Regions from separate parts of the Homo sapiens genome. Here region 2 is linked to region 1. The links are contacts of gene promoters, found by promoter capture Hi-C in blood cells and fetal thymus (Javierre and others, 2016). All regions are on one chromosome and are shown on one strand. Each heading gives the region's core, a stretch centred on a gene start or on the middle of the fragment in contact. The rest is flanking DNA. Distances are from core to core; before and after follow the strand shown. Region 1 holds the start of CYP4F11 (cytochrome P450 family 4 subfamily F member 11). Region 2 has its middle 25 kb from the start of OR10H2.

The links. The method cuts DNA at HindIII sites, captures the fragments that hold promoters and counts their contacts. A CHiCAGO score of 5 or more calls a contact.
Region 2: a contact is called between a fragment that was not itself captured here and the fragment with the promoter of CYP4F11 in region 1, in 1 of 17 cell types (M0 macrophages). The highest score is 5.3, in M0 macrophages.

Annotation. Positions count from the first base shown.
Region 1 is chr19:15,932,594-15,936,881 of GRCh38, forward strand. CYP4F11 (cytochrome P450 family 4 subfamily F member 11) reads right to left here and starts at 1,936. Exons shown (of 12, transcript NM_021187.4): 1 at 1,618-1,936. The coding sequence starts at 1,815. The HindIII fragment of the contact is 9,699 bases long and covers 1-4,288 here.
Region 2 is chr19:15,700,865-15,705,152 of GRCh38, forward strand. No RefSeq gene overlaps it. Among named protein-coding and RNA genes, the nearest start is that of OR10H2, 25 kb to the right of the region's middle. The HindIII fragment of the contact is 3,084 bases long and covers 263-3,346 here.

The sequences.
Region 1 (4,288 bases), core at 686-3,185:
GAGTGAGTGAGGAGAGGAATGAGTGAGTGAGGAGAGGAATGAGTGAGTGAGGAGAGGAATGAGTGAGTGAGGAGAGGAATGAGTGAGTGAGGAGAGGAATGAGTGAGTGAGGAGAGGAATGAGTGAGTGAGGAGAGGAATGAGTGAGTGAGGAGAGGAATGAGTGAGTGAGGAGAGGAATGAGTGAGTGAGGAGAGGAATGAGTGAGTGAGGAGAGGAATGAGTGAGTGAGGAGAGGAATGAGTGAGTGAGGAGAGGAATGAGTGAGTGAGGAGAGGAATGAGTGAGTGAGGAGAGGAATGAGTGAGTGAGGAGAGGAATGAGTGAGTGAGGAGAGGAATGAGTGAGTGAGGAGAAGAATGAGTGAGTGAGGAGAGGAATGAGTGAGTGAGGAGAGGAATGAGTGAGTGAGGAGAGGAATGAGTGAGTGAGGAGAGGAATGAGTGAGTGAGGAGAGGAATGAGTGAGTGAGGAGAGGAATGAGTGAGTGAGGAGAAGAATGAGTGAGTGAGGAGAGGAATGAGTGAGCGAGGAGAGGAATGAGTGAGCGGGGAGAGGAATGAGTGAGTGGGGAGAGGAATGAGTGAGTGAGGAGAGGAATGAGTGAGTGAGGAGAGGAATGAGTGAGTGAGGAGAGGAATGAGTGAGCGGGGAGAGGAATGAGTGAGCGAGGAGAGGAATGAGTGAGTGAGGAGAGGAATGAGTGAGTGAGGAGAGGAATGAGTGAGTGAGGAGAAGAATGAGTGAGTGAGGAGAAGAATGAGTGAGTGAGGAGAGGAATGAGTGAGTGAGGAGAGGAATGAGTGAGTGAGGAGAGGAATGAGTGAGTGAGGAGAAGAATGAGTGAGTGAGGAGAGGAATGAGTGAGTGAGGAGAAGAATGAGTGAGTGAGGAGAGGAATGAGTGAGTGAGGAGAAGAATGAGTGAGTGAGGAGAGGAATGAGTGAGTGAGGAGAAGAATGAGTGAGTGAGGAGAGGAATGAGTGAGTGAGGAGAAGAATGAGTGAGTGAGGAGAAGAATGAGTGAGTGAGGAGAGGAATGAGTGAGTGAGGAGAAGAATGAGTGAGTGAGGAGAGGAATGAGTGAGTGAGGAGAAGAATGAGTGAGTGAGGAGAAGAATGAGTGAGTGAGGAGAGGAATGAGTGAGTGAGGAGAAGAATGAGTGAGTGAGGAGAGGAATGAGTGAGTGAGCAGAGGAATGAGTGAGTGAGGAGAAGAATGAGTGAGTGAGGAGAAGAATGAGTGAGTGAGGAGAGGAATGAGTGAGTGAGCAGAGGAATGAGTGAGCGAGAAGAGGAATGAGTGAGTGGGCAGAGGAATGAGTGAGCGGGGAGAGGAATGAGTGAGCGGGGAGAGGAATGAGTGAGCGGGGAGAGGAATGAGTGAGCGGGGAGAGGAATGAGTGAGTGGGCAGAGGAATGAGTGAGTGGGCAGAGGAATGAGTGAGCGGGGAGAGGAATGAGTGAGTGGGCAGAGGAATGAGTGAGCTGCCTCCCTCTCTTCTCTGTGTTCCCACACCCCAGCCACCCTCAAAACCCAGCTCCCTGAGCCCCATTCCTGCCCCTCAGGAACTCCATGCATCCTGAGACCCCAGACCCGTCCTGCTGACAAACTCACCAGGCCCTGGTGTCCCCAAAACCAGTTCTGTTTCGGGGGTTGAGGAAAACACTGGAGGCGGCGGCAGTTGTCATAGAAGGTGTAGGTCCAGGCCAGGACGCGGGCCAGGAGCCAGGAGCCTCCAACCAGCAGCAGAAGCAGCCACGGGGATGCTGCCACGGGCCCGAGGCCCAGCCAGGACAGGCTCAGCTGCGGCATCCTGCAGGGCAGACGGGATGGAGGGTGGGATCCTGAGGCCCAGGGAAGGGCCCAGGAAGCTCCAAGGACAGTGGAAAGGGGCAAGGATGGGCAGTGCTGGAGGCAGATCAGGGAAGGCTCTGAGATGGGTAAACAAGAGCTGAGATCTAAAGTCCAGAAATGCCCAATGAAAACCAGCAGCCAAGTGGCCTCCAGTTACACAGAAAGGGAAAGAGAGAGAGAGGCTGATTAGAATCCAAAAAGGCCCAGCCTGAATCACTGGGAGGTTGCCAGGGGTCCAGTTACCAGGAAATCACCAGTCTCCCAGGCCAGCAGCCTTGACCCACCCCAACCTTGGGCAGTCCCCTCCCCATCCCAGGCCAGGACCCTCCAGCCCTGCCACTGCCAGCCTGGCTCCTATCAGAAGCAGCTTGTCCCACATACCCTCCTCTCCCCCTCTGCTAGGAGGTCTTTGCCTCTGGCCCCTGATTTCCGGAAGGCTGTGGGAGGCGAGGCTGGGCTGGGCTGGTCGAGCCAATCCCCATGGACTGGGTGTGTCTTCCAAGCCTGGGCAACCAACCAAAACCTGGCGTAGGGCCAGCTGGGTGCAGAGGAGCCAGCTCAGGGTGACACAGCATGGGCACAGGATCCGCAGGTCTCAACATCTCACACCTGAGTGGGAGGGGATCTTGAGGAAGAGTCAAAGGTGACTCTGAGCCCCAAAGTTTACAGCCACCTTGCCCTTCCAAGGCAAGAGTGTGGCAGATAAAGTCATGAACTTGAGAGTTCAGGTGGCAAGAGAGTGGGGCCAGGCCAACCATTGTGCCAGATCATGTTCTGAGCTCCTCTCCACATGTGGTCCAGGAGTTCATCATGCACCATTTCTCAGTGCAGACTTAGGAGATTCAGAGACAGAAGCTCCTGGCCTCTGGCTTCACAGTCTGGCAGGAGTTCAAGTCCTGCCTCCAGGCAACCCAGGGCCTGGGTCGAGACATGACTGACAGGAGTAGGAACAAACTATCTAACTGTGCTGGGGATTACCCGGTCAGATTTTAGAGATAAAGAGCCCCGCTGGAGGAGAATACCTGGAGGCTAGGTTCAGCATAGGAGGACAGAGAGGGGAGATGGGAGGTAAGGCTGAGAGGGGCCATGAGTGGATGGGGCCAGGGACAGGAGGGCAGAGATGGGGGACCCTGAGTGGAGTCCTTATTCTGCCCTCCCCTTGCCCTAACTGTGGGTAGTGAGCCCCTCCTGGACTCAGGCTTCCCATCTGGGAAATGGGATGTCAGATAAGGCCTTAGAGGGGGACAGAGGAGGGATCACAGGAAAATGGGCCTTAGATGGGGACAGATGAAAGATTCTGAGGAGGGAGTGAAGGGAAGGGGCTGGCAGCTAGCACTTTAGCTGCTGTGTGTCAGTCTCTGCTCTTTGCAAAAGACAATATGCAAAGTTCTTTTACTGTGTACTGGACTCTAAATAAAGCACACCTACCATGTGCCAGGTACTCTGTATACATGTTGTGTACTGTGTGCCAAGTGCTCTATGAAAAGTGTGTCCACTGTGTGCTGGGCGCTCTACAGAAAATCTTGCTTCTTTGTTCTCGGTCCTCTATATAAAGTGAAATTTGTGCGGAGTAACTTATGTAAAGTGTACCTACTCTGCACCTGCTGCTCTATATAAAACACACCTACTGTGTGTCAGATGTTCTATGTAGAGCATGTTTACTACGTGCCTGGTGATCTATGTCAAGTGCACCTACTGTGTGTCAAGTGCTCTACATAAAGCGTGCCTACTCTGGGTGCTGGGTACTCTTCATAAACTGTGACTCCATGTGTCCGGTACTCTACATAAAGCACACCTACTGTATGCCAGATGCTCTACATAAAGTGTTCTTTCTGTGTGTCAAGTGCTCTACATAAAGCGTGCCTACTCTGGATGCTGGGTACTCTTCATAAACTCTGACTCTGTGTGGCCGGTACTCTACATAATGCACACCTACTGTGTGCCAGATGCTCTATATAAAGTGTTTTTTCTGTGTGTCAAGTGCTCCACATAAAGTAAAACTACTCTATGTAAAGTTCTTGACATAAAGAATGCCTACTGTGTGCAAGGCACTCTCCACAAAGCACTCCTACTATGTGGCAGGGGCTCTAGGTAAAGCATGCCTACTGTGTTCCACCTACTCTAGGTCAAGTGCACCTGCTCATGTCAGATGCTCACCCGCGTCACCATGCCCAAAGCCTTCACACCAACCTCCCCTCGGTTCTCTGAGCCAGAGCCCTGGGATTGTTGGAGAGACCTGAGTGATGGCATCCAGAGAAGGGAATGCATCCATTTAACAAAAGAGCAAACTGAGTCTCAGAGAGGGCAGGCCTCTAGCCCAAGTTACAGAGCTCACAGGAAGCCAGGTTTGTGAGATCCTCAAGCCCAAACCTTTTTCCTCTGCCATGCTGTTCTGCACCCATTCATTAGGGTCAATGCCATATTAATACAG
Region 2 (4,288 bases), core at 555-3,054, 230 kb before region 1:
CAATCTCTTCAATAAATGATGGTGAAAGAACTGAATGTGTACATGCAGAAAATGAAACCAGATGCTTATCTCTTACCATATTCAAAAATCAAACCAAAATGGATAAAAGACTTAAATGCAAGACCTGAAACTATGAATTACTCGAAGAAAACATTGGGGAAATGCTTAAGGAAACTGATACGGGCAAGAAGTTTTTTGATAAGAACTCAACAGCATAGGCAACAAAGGTAAAATGGTGAAATGGGATTAAATCCAACAAAAAAGCTTCTTCAGAGCAAAGAAATCAATCAACAAAGTGAAGAGACAACCTACAGAATGAGAAGAAAAATTTGCACGTTTTCAGTCTGACAAAGGATTGGTAATCAGACCATATGAGGAACTCAGACAACTAATAGCAAAGGAAACCCAAAAATAATTCGAGTAAAAATGGGCAAATGATCTGAATAGACATTCCTCAAAAGAAGACATACCAATAGGTATATGAAGAGTTGCTCAACATTACTAACCATCTGGGAAATGGGAATCAAAACCACAGTGAGATAACATCTCACCCCCATTGAAATGGGGATTATAGAAAAGACAGTTTATTTATTTTTTTCCTGAGATGGTGGATTGGAGGGATTGTTAGCATGCTTCTCCCACTTGGAAGACAACATAGTGTGTAAAGATTCACACTGTGAAGTTTTTTCCAAGAAGTGACACAGGAACTTAACAGGAAAACTGAAAGAAACCACCCTTTGAAAGAAGCATCAGGCTGCAGCCTACACCACGAGCCAGGTGGACAACTGTAAGTCCCCAGAGTGTGAGAGAGGGTAAAGTGCCTCCAGGATATACAGTCCCACCGGGGAACCTGGTAATCCAGGCCACAGGGAAGGTCTTAATCCTTCCTTGTGGCAGGCCAACTGGGTGGCTGGGTCTTAATCCTTCTGAGTACTGGAGCTGACTTAGTAAGTGGTGGGAGTATATGAGAAGTGGCATCAGGGCAGGCATTCCCAGTCTCTGGCATTCCCAGTCTCCAGCAGGACAAAGGGAAGCCATTCCTGATCCTACCTCACAGGGGACCTCATGGACGTCTGCCAGCTAACACAGGTGGTGGTCACAGGTTGAGAGAAACTCCCAACTGAGATTCACAATATAATCTCAAGTAGGGATAACTCCCCCGTGGTCAGACCAAGAGGCAAGTGGGAAGTGAGCTGCAGCAACCAGCACAGGAGCTTGGTGTTCCTGCTTAATGGGCAAACCTGGAGAGGTGTGGCCTGAAAGCTGCAGATACTGGCTCAGCATTGGACTTTTGTGTCCCTGCTTAATGGGCAAACCTGGAGAGGTGTGGCCTGAAAGCTGCAGATACTGGCTCCTCAGGGAAGGCGTATGGCCTGGGGCACATTTGAATTCTGAGCACAGACTGCCTGGAACCTAGCTAGCTGCTGCTAGTGGAACACTGTGGGTGCAAGACCTGTCTTGCCAAGAGTGTAGGAGCTGGGTGTGGCTTATTGCCACCTGCTACTCCCCATTCCCCATACAGACTCTTCTGTGAAGCAGAGGCAGCTGTGCTCCTCCCTGGACATTATTCCTGCAACCAGAGAACCACTCTCTGATCCCCAGTGGGGCTACTGCTTTTGTCCAGAGGTGGAGAGCCAGAGTGCGGACTTGCCTGATTGAGCTCTCACTTGGCTTTGCCCCTCCACCTGCCCTGATATATTAATACGTAGGGCAGAAATTTTTGGGAGCCCTATGGCCCCCCCGCCCGGCCCGCCACTGCCTGAGACGCGAGAGTACCTCCTCTGGGTAACATAAGACAGACACAAATTCCACTGCTACCACCACAGCTGGTGTTATTTTGCAAGCGCCACCTCCTGGCTGTGGGCCAATTGACAGAGTCCATTATAGTATCTGCTTGCAAGCACAATAACAGCCAGCAGGAAGGAGAAAACTTGTGCATGACCTCAGCTATCACTATTGCCTGCATCCATCTGGTTAATCAGGAAGTTCTGAGTCTGTCCACATGACCAGTTTGTTAGTACCACAGCTGGCATTTGAGAAAGCCAACACACTAAGGCTACTTATAACTGAGCAATCTCACAGAATCTACATCACTCCCCTTCTTCCCCCATCAGAGCTGGGGCTGGTACCACTGCTGGGGGTTTTGAGGATCCGTTACTTGATTGGCCCCTTGCAGATATTCTCCAGCACCAGCATAAATTGTGGCAGCCCCACTGGGTGGCTAGACCAAGAGGAGCCGCAGCCTTCATAGTAGTCTGGCTCTCTGAGACTCCTACTTCTAGGGGGAAGGGGAGTGCACCGTATCAATGGAGCACACCATGGGACAAAAGATTCCAGATGGTAGACCTTGAGTCCCACTTTCCGCATATGAGAAGTTGCTTTTCTTTTTCTTTTTTTTTTTTTTTGAGACAGACTTTCGCTCTGTCCCCCAGGCTGGAGTGCAGTGGCGCAATCTCGGCTCACTGCACCTGGGTTCAGGCAATTCTCCTGCCTCAGCTTGCTGAGTAGCTGGGGTTACAGGCGCCTGCCACCGTGCCCAGCTAACTTCTTGTATTTTTAGTAGAGATGAGGATTTGCCATCTTGGCCGGCTAGTTTTCAACTCGTGATCCACTCGCCTCAGCCTCCCAAAGTGTTGGGATTACAGGCTTGAGCCGCTGTGCCTGGCAAGAAGTTTCTTTCAGCAGAGGCATAGGTGCAGTGCTGGGTTCAGTGGCGGAAATGTCTGCAGATCTACTTCAACAGTCAGGCACTTCTGGGGATCAATGAAGGGTCTTAGAGAAGGGGACTTTTTCTTCCCCTTGTCCACTACTGCAGACACAGCTGCAGCTTCTCCCATGACAGCTTGGCATGGCTACACATGTAGACATTCATTCTCTCTGGAATAGTTCAGAGTGACTGCATTCTATAGGAGGAGCACTCTCCAGGTTCAGGCTTGCATGAGTGGCAGAGCCCCAGTCCCTCTCTACAGGGAATATCAGCATTCCTGCAAATGAAAAGAGGTGCCTATCTGATCTGACTAGTCAGATCACTGGGTCAGGAGTGTATCTGGGAGGTGGGTAGGTTTCCTGCTGTCCTGGCAGGGGAGCTGAGGAGGCTCCCTCCCTTCCCCTTGAAAAGACCTCCATGTGTTTCCCTGAGAGCTCCCCCAACCACATCTGTCAAGGATGGCACCTTTGCCCCCCACTGGGAACTGCATTGACCAAACTGCTTTAACCACAGCTGGTTTTTATTCATGGATACCTCCCTTGAGTGGCCTAAAGCCTGAACTGTTCATCCAGGTAAAAAAAAAAAAGGTTGGGGGGATATAAATAAATAAATAAATGCATACTACTGGGGAATGAGATAAGCTTCAAGAGACCTCTGCCCTTCCAACACCAACAGAAACAGTGAACCTGCCCTCACACTGAGCACATTGCTACTACAACTAGCATCTGAGAAAGCCACCATACAAAGACTCCGTATAACCAAGGAACTCATACAGAGTCTGCACCCACGAAAGCACCCAGAGCCATAGGTTACAATAAACTCTAAACATCAAAGTCACATCCTCAAAGGGAAAAAAGATCTAAGAAACATCACAATTAATCAAAAATAAGTTCAAAAATAATTAGAAGAAGCAGTCTAACCAGGTGAGTGGAAATCAGAAAAATAATTCTGGCAATATGACAAAACAGGGTTCTATAACAACCATTAGCTCTCCAGCAATAGATCCAAACCAAGAAGAAATCTTTGAAATACCAGATAAAGAATTCAAAAGATTAATTATTAAGTTACTCAAGGAGATACAAGGGAGAACTGAAAACCAGCATAAATAAATTTAAAAATTAATTCAGGATATAAATAAAACTTTTCTAAAGAAATAGCTATTTTAAAGAAAAATCAATCAGAAATTCTAGAAATGAAAGACACATTTAGAGACTTACAAAATGCAGGGGAAAGTTTTGAAAGTAGGCTTGACCAAGTCGAAGAAAGAATTTCAGAGCTCAAAGACAAGGCTTTGAGTTAAACCAATTAGACAAAAATAAAGAAAAAAGAACTAACTTTTTTCTTTCTTTTTTTTAAAAAAAGAAAAGAAATGGAAAGTGTACCCAAGAAATACAAGATTATCTATAATGGCCAAATATAAGTATCACTGATGTTCCTGAGGAAGAAGATAAACAGAAAGTTTGGAAAACTTAGTTTAGGGAATAACTGAGGAAAACTTTCCTGGTCTTGTTAGAGATTTAGATATCTAAATATAATAGGCTCAAAGAACTCCTGGGGAATTATTTGCAAAAAGGACATGAC